Regions from separate parts of the Homo sapiens genome. Here region 2 is linked to region 1. Evidence: promoter capture Hi-C in human tissues and cell types (Jung and others, 2019). All regions are on one chromosome and are shown on one strand. The core of a region is centred on a gene start or on the middle of the fragment in contact, and the rest is flanking DNA. Distances in the headings are between cores, read along the strand shown.

Evidence for each region. Contacts are between HindIII fragments. The study calls those that stand out against the background at their distance.
Region 2: a fragment that was not itself captured here is called in contact with the fragment with the promoter of LRRC3C in region 1 in 1 of the 25 tissues and cell types used here (dorsolateral prefrontal cortex).

Annotation. Positions count from the first base shown.
Region 1 is chr17:39,926,482-39,932,140 of GRCh38, reverse strand. It overlaps LRRC3C (leucine rich repeat containing 3C), which reads right to left and starts at 4,409. Exons shown (of 4, transcript NM_001195545.2): 1 at 4,327-4,409. ORMDL3 (ORMDL sphingolipid biosynthesis regulator 3) reads left to right here and starts at 4,540. Exons shown (of 4, transcript NM_139280.4): 1 at 4,540-4,657. It overlaps LOC124903999 (a long non-coding RNA gene), which reads right to left and starts at 5,421. Exons shown (of 2, transcript XR_007065750.1): 1 at 5,379-5,421; 2 at 5,139-5,213. RefSeq lists enhancers at 4,064-4,675, 4,676-5,286. The HindIII fragment of the contact is 12,451 bases long and covers 1-5,659 here.
Region 2 is chr17:39,406,173-39,411,831 of GRCh38, reverse strand. It overlaps MED1 (mediator complex subunit 1), which reads left to right. Exons shown (of 17, transcript NM_004774.4): 17 at 1,111-5,659. The coding sequence ends at 4,357. Among named protein-coding and RNA genes, the nearest start is that of FBXL20, 7.4 kb to the right of the region's middle. The HindIII fragment of the contact is 5,074 bases long and covers 1-4,859 here.

The DNA.
Region 1 (5,659 bases), core at 3,160-5,659:
AGAGGTTCAGTAACTTGCTTAAGGTTACACAGCTGGTAACTAGAGGAGCTGCGAGTTGAACCCTGGCAGTCTGGTGCCAGAGGATGTTACCAGTGCTGCTCTATTTTGGCTTATCTTAATCATTAACGTATATGCAGGTTTAGACTTTTTATTATGAACAGTTTTAAACATTAAAAAAGTAGAGAAAATAGCCCAGGCGTGGTGGCTCATGCCTGTAATCCCAGCACTTTGGGAGGCCAAGGTGGGCAGATCACTTGAAGTCAGGAGTTCAAAACCAGCCTGGCCAACATGGTGAAACCCTGTCTCAACTAAAAATACAAAAATTACCTGGATGTGGTGGCGTGCACCTGTAATCCCAGCCCACTCGGGAGGCTGAGGCAGGAAAATCTCTTGAACTAGGGAGGCGGAGGTTGCAGTGAGCCGAAACTGCACCACTGTGCTCCAGCCTGGGTGACAGAGTGAGACTCTGTCTCAAAAAAAAAAAAAAAAAAAAAGTATAGAAAATAATATAAGGAACTTCATGTCCTCATCACACAGCTTCCATAATTATCACCTCATGGCTCATCTTATTATTTCCCTATGGTTCCCAGTCCAGATTATTTCGAAGCAAATGCAATCACTGTATCATTTCATCCACAGATATTTTAGTATGTATGTATGTCTGAAAGGAGGACTTTTTTTTTTTTTTTTTTTTTGAGACGAAGTCTCTCTCTGTCACCCGGGGTGGAGTACAGTGGTATGATCTCGGCTCACTGCAACCTCTGCCTCCCAGTTTCAAGTAATTCTCCTGCCTCAGCCTCCCGAGTAGCTGGGATTACAGGCACGTGCCACCATGCCTGGCTAATTTTTTTCTATTTTTAGTAGAGACGGGATTTCACCATGCTGGCCAGGCTGGTCTCAAACTCCTGACCTTGTGATCTGCCTGCCTCACCTCCCAAAGTGCTGGGATTACAGGTGTGATCCAACGCACCCAGCCAAGGAAGACTTTTTTTTTTTTTGAGATGAAGTTTCACTCTTGTCTCCCAGGCTGGAGTGCAATGGCACGATCTCGGCTCACTGCATCCTCCACCTCCTGGGTTCAAGCGATTCTCCTGCCTCAGCCTCTCAAGTAGCTGGGATTATAGGCGCCTGTCACCACGCCTGGCTAATTTTTGTATTTTTAGTAGAGGCGGGGTTTCACCATGTTGGCCAGGCTGGTCTCGAACTCCTGACCTCAGGTGATCTGTCTGCCTGAGCCTCCCAAAGTGCTGGGATTACAGGCATGAGCTACCACGCCCAGCCATGGAGGACTTTTTAAATTAAAAAAACAACCTTACCACAATTCCATATCACGCCTAAACATTTAGAATTCCTTAATATCGTTGAATACCTTGTCAGTATTCAAATTTGCCTGATAACTTAATAAAATCTTTTTTTTTTTTTTTTTTTTTTTGAGACAGAGCCTTGCTCAGTCACCCAGGCTGGAGTGCCAATGGTGCAATCTTGGCTCACTACAACCTCTGCCTCCTGGGTTCAAGCAATTCTCTTGCTTCAGCCTCCTGAGTAGCTGGGATTACAGGCGCCCATCACCACACCCAGCTAGTTTTTGTAGTTTTAGTAGAGACGGAGTTTCACCACGTTGGCCAGGCTGGTGTCAAACTCCTGACCTCAGGTGATCCGCCTACCTTGGCCTCCCAAAGTACTGGGGTTACAGGCATGCGTGACCATGCCCGGCCTTTTTTTTTTTTTTTTTTTTTTTTTTTTTAAAGTCAGTTTGCTTGAATCAGGATCCAAATAAGACTTTTAGTTGATATATCATTTAATTTATTTTAATCTGTAAGTCTCTCCCCCTCTTTTTTTTCCTTTTTTTTTTTTTTTTTTTTTGAGACAGGATCTCACTCTGCTGCCCAGACTGGAATGCACTGGCACGATCACAGCTCACTGCAGCCTTGACCTCCCGGGCTCAATTGATCCTCCCACCTCAGCCTCCTGAGTAGCTGGGACTATAGACACACCACCATGCCCAACTAATTTTTGTATTTTTTGTAGACCACGGGGTTTTACCATGTTGTCCAGGTTGGTCTCGAACTCCTGGACACAAGCCTTGGCCTCTCAAAGTGCTGGGATTACAGGCGTGAGTCACCATACCTGGCCCCAGTTTTATTTGTTAAGGGAATTGGGTGTTTGTCCTAATTTTCTTCATTCTAGACTTTGCTGACTATATCCCTGGGGAATGTATGTTATGCTATTTTGTGTCCTCATCTTTTCATATAACTTAGCAAACATTCCCCATACTGCCACAGGGTTTTCACAATCTGTCCTAAATGGCTTCATACTATTCCATCCAGTGGATATACTGTAATTTTTTTCTTGGGCATTTGGTTGCTTTCAGTTTTTCACTACTATAAATATTGCTGGAATGAACATCCTGACACATTGCAGCTTTTCCTGTACATGGGATGACTTCCTTAGAATATGCTACCAAAAGTGTAATTATGGCTCTGAGGCAAGAAGAATTTTTCAGCTTCTTGGCACACAGTGACAAGTGTTTGTCCAAGGGTTTGTATGTCCCCCAGCACGAAATAAGAGAGCTGTCACTCACTCTGAATAGTGCTTAGGGCTATTCACAGCTGAAGAACGTTTGGGGAAGATATGATAATTATGAGGGCCAAGAGAGAAGGAGAAAGATGACAACAGGGACTCCCGCTAAATAAAGCAGAAAGTGATCTGCAATTTACCACAAACCTAGAGTGAGTCAGAACTCTGTTCATTCCTATTGTGAAAAAAAAATCCTCGATAACAGGAGTTATTAATAGTGCATGACATGTTCAGTAATCTTTCTGTTAGACTCTGCATTAGTCAGAACCTTATTTGAGACGTGGACTCAGTCTGGGTCACTGAACTTCATAGAGATGTCAGGAAACTGACCAAGATCCAGAGGGATCGATCAACTTGATGGAGGATGAAGAATCCCAGAGAAAAATCAAAGGAGTCAAGCAGGCACACTTCGGAAAAAACAGAGACACCTTTCTTGCCTTAATGCTGGGGAGGTTTCTGTGAAAAGAACAACACTGGGTTTGCTTATGTCTGCAGAAAGATGACTATAAGGAAAGGCACCTCCACAAACCAGGAGAAACTTCCACAGGACATAGGCAGAGCTATTTCAGACTCAGATGATTATTTCGATCTTGGAATGAGCCCTTTTGGGGCCATTGGCCCTGGAAATATTGAAGAAGCTGCCTGTTCTGCTCTGGGTGGTTCAAATACCCACCTGCCTGGTGACCACTAAGTGCCTCTGGGGGTCCCACTCCAGCTGTGTGACAACTGTTTCCTGGCAGCCCCCTGGGGAAGGAAAGGTAGGTGTAGTCCGAGTAAAGTGCTCCGCAGTTTCCCTGGGCTAGCCTTTTCCTTCCTGTTCCCTCACTTTCAGTTCAGGGTGCCATGAACTGCCATTCAGAGTCAGGTTGGCATGCCATGACATCATCTGACCTTGCTATTCCAGCCCTGCCCTGCATAGAGTGGACTTAGAAAGAAGCTGGGTAAGGAGTTGAAACTACCCAGACAAGACCTCTTGGTGACATGGAGAATGGGAGTAACCGAGGAGACCTCAAGAGCCATTTAGTTCAACCTCCTACAGTAATATTAAGTAGATTCCTACAATGCAACAGGTGCTTTACATACATTCTTTTGGGTTCCCACAACCTTGGAGGTGGGGTTTCACAGGTGTGGAATTGGAGATTAAGACAAGTAATTTGCCCAGGGTCACACTGCCAATAAAGGAGGGCCTACCCCATGTCTACCAGGCAGTAAAGTCTGTGCCCTTGCCTTTAGACGATGCAGATGTGAAAACTGCAGACCAGAGCCTCTCATTCAAAGCCACACAAGCTGACCTGAGACAGAAACTCAGGCTCCTTACTACTGATGGAGGAATCTATGATACGTAGCCTCTTCTCACGTCAGGTGCGGGGCGGCCAAGGATGTGGCCCGGTCCGGGGCAGCCTGGGCCAAGCGTGACTGAGAAGGAGAAGGCAGGCTCCGTTCCGGGCCCTCCAGACCCTCATCCCAGCCAATGTTGTGAAAAGCGCTCTCCCAGGAGGGCCCAGCAGGGCAAAGGGCCGGGCTAGTCTGTTTCTGGAGGAGCCAATCTGGGGCCAGGGCGGAGGCAGCCAGGTGCAGTGGAAAAATCCTGCAGTTGGGGTCAGAATATTTGGGTTTCGATCCAGTCTAGGACCCAGCAAAGACCTACAGAAAGTTACTTACAAGTCCGAGTCTCCTCATCTGCAAAACTGGGGCACGGATAAAATACACTTGAAGGGCACAGAAGCAAAAGTTGGAATTGTTACGCACCAAAATTCTATCATCCGATCTGACCATCACGTCACGGTACAACTTCCAACCGTGCGTCCCCGAAGAGGCCGGGAACGGAGCCCAGGAAAAACTACAACTCCCAGGAGGCGTCGGGAGGGCCGGCCCGGAGCCAGCGGAAGAAACTACAACTCCCAGAAGGCGTCGGGCGTGCCGGCGCGGGGCGGTGACGTACGGGGACCGGCGCGGAGCGCTGATTCGGCCGGAGCTGCCAGCGGGGAGGCTGCAGCCGCGGGTTGTTACAGCTGCTGGAGCAGCAGCGGCCCCCGCTCCCGGGAACCGTTCCCGGGCCGTTGATCTTCGGCCCCACACGGTGAGCCCGGAAGGAACCAAGAGGCCCCAGGGCTACGGGAGGGGCGGGAGAGAAGGTGGGGGCTGCTGGGGAGGCGCCCCGGGCTGGAGAGACGGGGGCAGAGGGAGTGGGGGGTGGAGGGAGTGCATCAGCCGAGGGGGTGCATCGGCTGGGGAGGTGGCCAAGGAATAAAGTGCGAGCGGGAGGCCGGGGGTGGAACGTCGGGAGGAGCGCCTCGGCTAGGGGTGGGAGGCGGGGAGCGGCTCGGCTTCGGGGATAAACGTTTGGCTGCCTCCAGGGCTGGGTGAACGCGTGGAGATGGCTGTGGGGTCCCGGACCGGACCGGGTTCCGAGTGCGAAGACCCAGGCTGGGGAACAGAGCGGGACCCCTCCCCCCGGCCCCGCACCCGAGGTCTCACTCAGAAAACCCCAACAACAGTGAGGACTCCGCCTCTTCGCTCCTCCTCTCCTGTGCTTAGTGCGGGTTCGCCTGGGCACTCGCTTTCCGCTCCTACCGCCCTCCCCCAGTCGGGGTGGCTGGGCCAAAGTTGAGAGGTTATCAGCTGTGGTCCTGCAGCTTGGGGGGTGGGCGGAATGGACATGGCATTGTGACGTGCTGCCCCGGACTCCCCGTTGGGGTCCCCATCCAGGCCTGGATGTTTTGTGCTCCTCTTCCAGAAGACAGGAGGTTTGCTGTTGTGAGGGCTGCTCTTTCCTGGGGGAGGGAATGGGAAGGGCTCACCTGGTGGCTGCCCTGGTGGTGCTCAGCCTTGGCTTGAGTGTCTGGCATACTGGCTGGGCCCGGATATTTGTATGTGGAGCCAAGAGGGTGGGGCGGGAAGGAGGGGGAAAGAGCTACCAGCAAAAAAGTGGTTAACACAACAGAGTTGCTGCAGGCTCTGGTTTGAGGCAGGTTATGAAACCACATCAGGGCCCAGCACTAAGCAGCCACCTGCCAGCTATGGCAGCAGAAGTTTTCGGCTCAACTCCTGTAGACCTAGTCGACCTCTGCCAGCCTCTTCT
Region 2 (5,659 bases), core at 1,073-3,572, 520 kb after region 1:
AGATGGGGTTTCACTATGTTGGCCAGGCTGGTCTCAAAACTCCTGACCCTGTGATCCACCCGCCTCGGCCTCCCAAAGTGCTGGGATTACAGGCGTGAGCCACTCTGACCGGCGGAGATTTTTCTAATGGTTCCTTAATTAAAATAAATTATGTATCCCTGTAATTACCATATGAAGCCCCCCAGAGGACGACATTTTCTTTTTTCCTTTGAAATGAAGTCTTGCACTGTCACCAAGGCTGGCGTGCAATGGGACGATCTTGGCTCGCTGCGATCTCTGCCTCCTGGGTTCAAGTGATTCTCCTGTCTACCCTTCCTGAGTAGCTGGGATTACAGCTGTGCACCGCCACGGCTGGCTAATTTTTTGTATTTTTAGTAGAGACAGGGTTTCACCCCGCTGGCCAGGCTGGTCTCAAACTCCTGACCCGAAGTGATCCACCCTCCTCGGCCTTCCAAAGTGCTGGGATTGCAGGAGTGAGCCACCGCGCCCGACCTAAGGAGGCATTTTTTTTTTTGAGACGGAGTCTCACTCTGTTGCCAAGCTGGAGTGCAGTGGTGTGATCTCAGTGCAATGCAACCTCCGCCTCCCTTGTTCAAGCAATTCTCCTGCCTCAACCTCCCGAGTAGCTGGGATTACAGGCACGCGCCACCACGCCCAGCTAATTTTTGTATTTTTAGTAGAGACGGGGTTTCACCATGTTGGCCAGGATGGTGTCGATCTCCTGACCTCATGTTCCAGCCGCCTTGGCCTCCCAAAGTGCTGGGATTACAGGCGTGAGCCACTGTGCCCGGCCCCTAAGGAGGCATTTTCTTACTGAGTTCCATTATTACCAATTTTCTTTTAGTTAAGTTTGAAATTCAATTATTTGGACTCTTGTTTATAGTTTGCTTTTGTTGTGTGATTCATAAGAGGTTGACAATTTTATGTTGGGTTAGATTTTTAGAATGTATTTACCCAAAGCTCTGGTATTTGATAGAACTATTTTTGTCTTACAGATTATTTGCCCTACCTGAAAACTGCTTACTGCAAAACTCTGATGTTATATCTAAATCTCAGGTCTCATTCAGCAGCTATTGCAATGTTAACTTTGTTTTCTTCTTTATTTTGCAGATGTATGTCCATCCCTGTGACGATGAGGGCTATTCGGAGGAAAGCTGAAACCATTCAAGCCGACACCCCAGCACTGTCCCTCATTGCAGAGACAGTTGAAGACATGGTGAAAAAGAACCTGCCCCCGGCTAGCAGCCCAGGGTATGGCATGACCACAGGCAACAACCCAATGAGTGGTACCACTACACCAACCAACACCTTTCCGGGGGGTCCCATTACCACCTTGTTTAATATGAGCATGAGCATCAAAGATCGGCATGAGTCGGTGGGCCATGGGGAGGACTTCAGCAAGGTGTCTCAGAACCCAATTCTTACCAGTTTGTTGCAAATCACAGGGAACGGGGGGTCTACCATTGGCTCGAGTCCGACCCCTCCTCATCACACGCCGCCACCTGTCTCTTCGATGGCCGGCAACACCAAGAACCACCCGATGCTCATGAACCTTCTTAAAGATAATCCTGCCCAGGATTTCTCAACCCTTTATGGAAGCAGCCCTTTAGAAAGGCAGAACTCCTCTTCCGGCTCACCCCGCATGGAAATATGCTCGGGGAGCAACAAGACCAAGAAAAAGAAGTCATCAAGATTACCACCTGAGAAACCAAAGCACCAGACTGAAGATGACTTTCAGAGGGAGCTATTTTCAATGGATGTTGACTCACAGAACCCTATCTTTGATGTCAACATGACAGCTGACACGCTGGATACGCCACACATCACTCCAGCTCCAAGCCAGTGTAGCACTCCCCCAACAACTTACCCACAACCAGTACCTCACCCCCAACCCAGTATTCAAAGGATGGTCCGACTATCCAGTTCAGACAGCATTGGCCCAGATGTAACTGACATCCTTTCAGACATTGCAGAAGAAGCTTCTAAACTTCCCAGCACTAGTGATGATTGCCCAGCCATTGGCACCCCTCTTCGAGATTCTTCAAGCTCTGGGCATTCTCAGAGTACCCTGTTTGACTCTGATGTCTTTCAAACTAACAATAATGAAAATCCATACACTGATCCAGCTGATCTTATTGCAGATGCTGCTGGAAGCCCCAGTAGTGACTCTCCTACCAATCATTTTTTTCATGATGGAGTAGATTTCAATCCTGATTTATTGAACAGCCAGAGCCAAAGTGGTTTTGGAGAAGAATATTTTGATGAAAGCAGCCAAAGTGGGGATAATGATGATTTCAAAGGATTTGCATCTCAGGCACTAAATACTTTGGGGGTGCCAATGCTTGGAGGTGATAATGGGGAGACCAAGTTTAAGGGCAATAACCAAGCCGACACAGTTGATTTCAGTATTATTTCAGTAGCCGGCAAAGCTTTAGCTCCTGCAGATCTTATGGAGCATCACAGTGGTAGTCAGGGTCCTTTACTGACCACTGGGGACTTAGGGAAAGAAAAGACTCAAAAGAGGGTAAAGGAAGGCAATGGCACCAGTAATAGTACTCTCTCGGGGCCCGGATTAGACAGCAAACCAGGGAAGCGCAGTCGGACCCCTTCTAATGATGGGAAAAGCAAAGATAAGCCTCCAAAGCGGAAGAAGGCAGACACTGAGGGAAAGTCTCCATCTCATAGTTCTTCTAACAGACCTTTTACCCCACCTACCAGTACAGGTGGATCTAAATCGCCAGGCAGTGCAGGAAGATCTCAGACTCCCCCAGGTGTTGCCACACCACCCATTCCCAAAATCACTATTCAGATTCCTAAGGGAACAGTGATGGTGGGCAAGCCTTCCTCTCACAGTCAGTATACCAGCAGTGGTTCTGTGTCTTCCTCAGGCAGCAAAAGCCACCATAGCCATTCTTCCTCCTCTTCCTCATCTGCTTCCACCTCAGGGAAGATGAAAAGCAGTAAATCAGAAGGTTCATCAAGTTCCAAGTTAAGTAGCAGTATGTATTCTAGCCAGGGGTCTTCTGGATCTAGCCAGTCCAAAAATTCATCCCAGTCTGGGGGGAAGCCAGGCTCCTCTCCCATAACCAAGCATGGACTGAGCAGTGGCTCTAGCAGCACCAAGATGAAACCTCAAGGAAAGCCATCATCACTTATGAATCCTTCTTTAAGTAAACCAAACATATCCCCTTCTCATTCAAGGCCACCTGGAGGCTCTGACAAGCTTGCCTCTCCAATGAAGCCTGTTCCTGGAACTCCTCCATCCTCTAAAGCCAAGTCCCCTATCAGTTCAGGTTCTGGTGGTTCTCATATGTCTGGAACTAGTTCAAGCTCTGGCATGAAGTCATCTTCAGGGTTAGGATCCTCAGGCTCGTTGTCCCAGAAAACTCCCCCATCATCTAATTCCTGTACGGCATCTTCCTCCTCCTTTTCCTCAAGTGGCTCTTCCATGTCATCCTCTCAGAACCAGCATGGGAGTTCTAAAGGAAAATCTCCCAGCAGAAACAAGAAGCCGTCCTTGACAGCTGTCATAGATAAACTGAAGCATGGGGTTGTCACCAGTGGCCCTGGGGGTGAAGACCCACTGGACGGCCAGATGGGGGTGAGCACAAATTCTTCCAGCCATCCTATGTCCTCCAAACATAACATGTCAGGAGGAGAGTTTCAGGGCAAGCGTGAGAAAAGTGATAAAGACAAATCAAAGGTTTCCACCTCCGGGAGTTCAGTGGATTCTTCTAAGAAGACCTCAGAGTCAAAAAATGTGGGGAGCACAGGTGTGGCAAAAATTATCATCAGTAAGCATGATGGAGGCTCCCCTAGCATTAAAGCCAAAGTGACTTTGCAGAAACCTGGGGAAAGTAGTGGAGAAGGGCTTAGGCCTCAAATGGCTTCTTCTAAAAACTATGGCTCTCCACTCATCAGTGGTTCCACTCCAAAGCATGAGCGTGGCTCTCCCAGCCATAGTAAGTCACCAGCATATACCCCCCAGAATCTGGACAGTGAAAGTGAGTCAGGCTCCTCCATAGCAGAGAAATCTTATCAGAATAGTCCCAGCTCAGACGATGGTATCCGACCACTTCCAGAATACAGCACAGAGAAACATAAGAAGCACAAAAAGGAAAAGAAGAAAGTAAAAGACAAAGATAGGGACCGAGACCGGGACAAAGACCGAGACAAGAAAAAATCTCATAGCATCAAGCCAGAGAGTTGGTCCAAATCACCCATCTCTTCAGACCAGTCCTTGTCTATGACAAGTAACACAATCTTATCTGCAGACAGACCCTCAAGGCTCAGCCCAGACTTTATGATTGGGGAGGAAGATGATGATCTTATGGATGTGGCCCTGATTGGGAATTAGGAACCTTATTTCCTAAAAGAAACAGGGCCAGAGGAAAAAAAACTATTGATAAGTTTATAGGCAAACCACCATAAGGGGTGAGTCAGACAGGTCTGATTTGGTTAAGAATCCTAAATGGCATGGCTTTGACATCAAGCTGGGTGAATTAGAAAGGCATATCCAGACCCTATTAAAGAAACCACAGGGTTTGATTCTGGTTACCAGGAAGTCTTCTTTGTTCCTGTGCCAGAAAGAAAGTTAAAATACTTGCTTAAGAAAGGGAGGGGGGTGGGAGGGGTGTAGGGAGAGGGAAGGGAGGGAAACAGTTTTGTGGGAAATATTCATATATATTTTCTTCTCCCTTTTTCCATTTTTAGGCCATGTTTTAAACTCATTTTAGTGCATGTATATGAAGGGCTGGGCAGAAAATGAAAAAGCAATACATTCCTTGATGCATTTGCATGAAGGTTGTTCAACTTTGTTTGAGGTAGTTGTCCGTTTGAGTCATGGGCAAATGAAGGACTTTGGTCATTTTGGACACTTAAGTAATGTTTGGTGTCTGTTTCTTAGGAGTGACTGGGGGAGGGAAGATTATTTTAGCTATTTATTTGTAATATTTTAACCCTTTATCTGTTTGTTTTTATACAGTGTTTCGTTCTAAATCTATGAGGTTTAGGGTTCAAAATGATGGAAGGCCGAAGAGCAAGGCTTATATGGTGGTAGGGAGCTTATAGCTTGTGCTAATACTGTAGCATCAAGCCCAAGCAAATTAGTCAGAGCCCGCCTTTAGAGTTAAATATAATAGAAAAACCAAAATGATATTTTTATTTTAGGAGGGTTTAAATAGGGTTCAGAGATCATAGGAATATTAGGAGTTACCTCTCTGTGGAGGTATTGACTTGTAATCTCATTTTCCTTTCAAAAAAAAAAAAAAAAGCTAAGGTGGCTTGTTGGGATGTAAACATGTTTTCAGATGCAGTAAGGTTTAGTGTAGGACAGCCTTCCTGACCCAGTGGCATGAAAACCATTACAGGATTAATAGTTCTCCTACTTCCACAATGTGCCAAAAGTCTGCATCCCAGCATTTTGTTTGCAGGAGAACTGATGCCATTCCTAAGAGCTGGACTCACTGTTTCTCTTCATCACAAGGAGAAGGAGTCCAAACTTTAATCACTCCACTGTATGCTCCCTGAGATAAAACAGTAAAAAATCCGCAGCCATAGTTCACTTAAAACAATTTCAAGCTCACTTTTGAAGTAATGGGGGCCTGGAATGCTAGGTGAGCATGAAGATAAACCCTTGCTACTATGTAGCAACCCAATT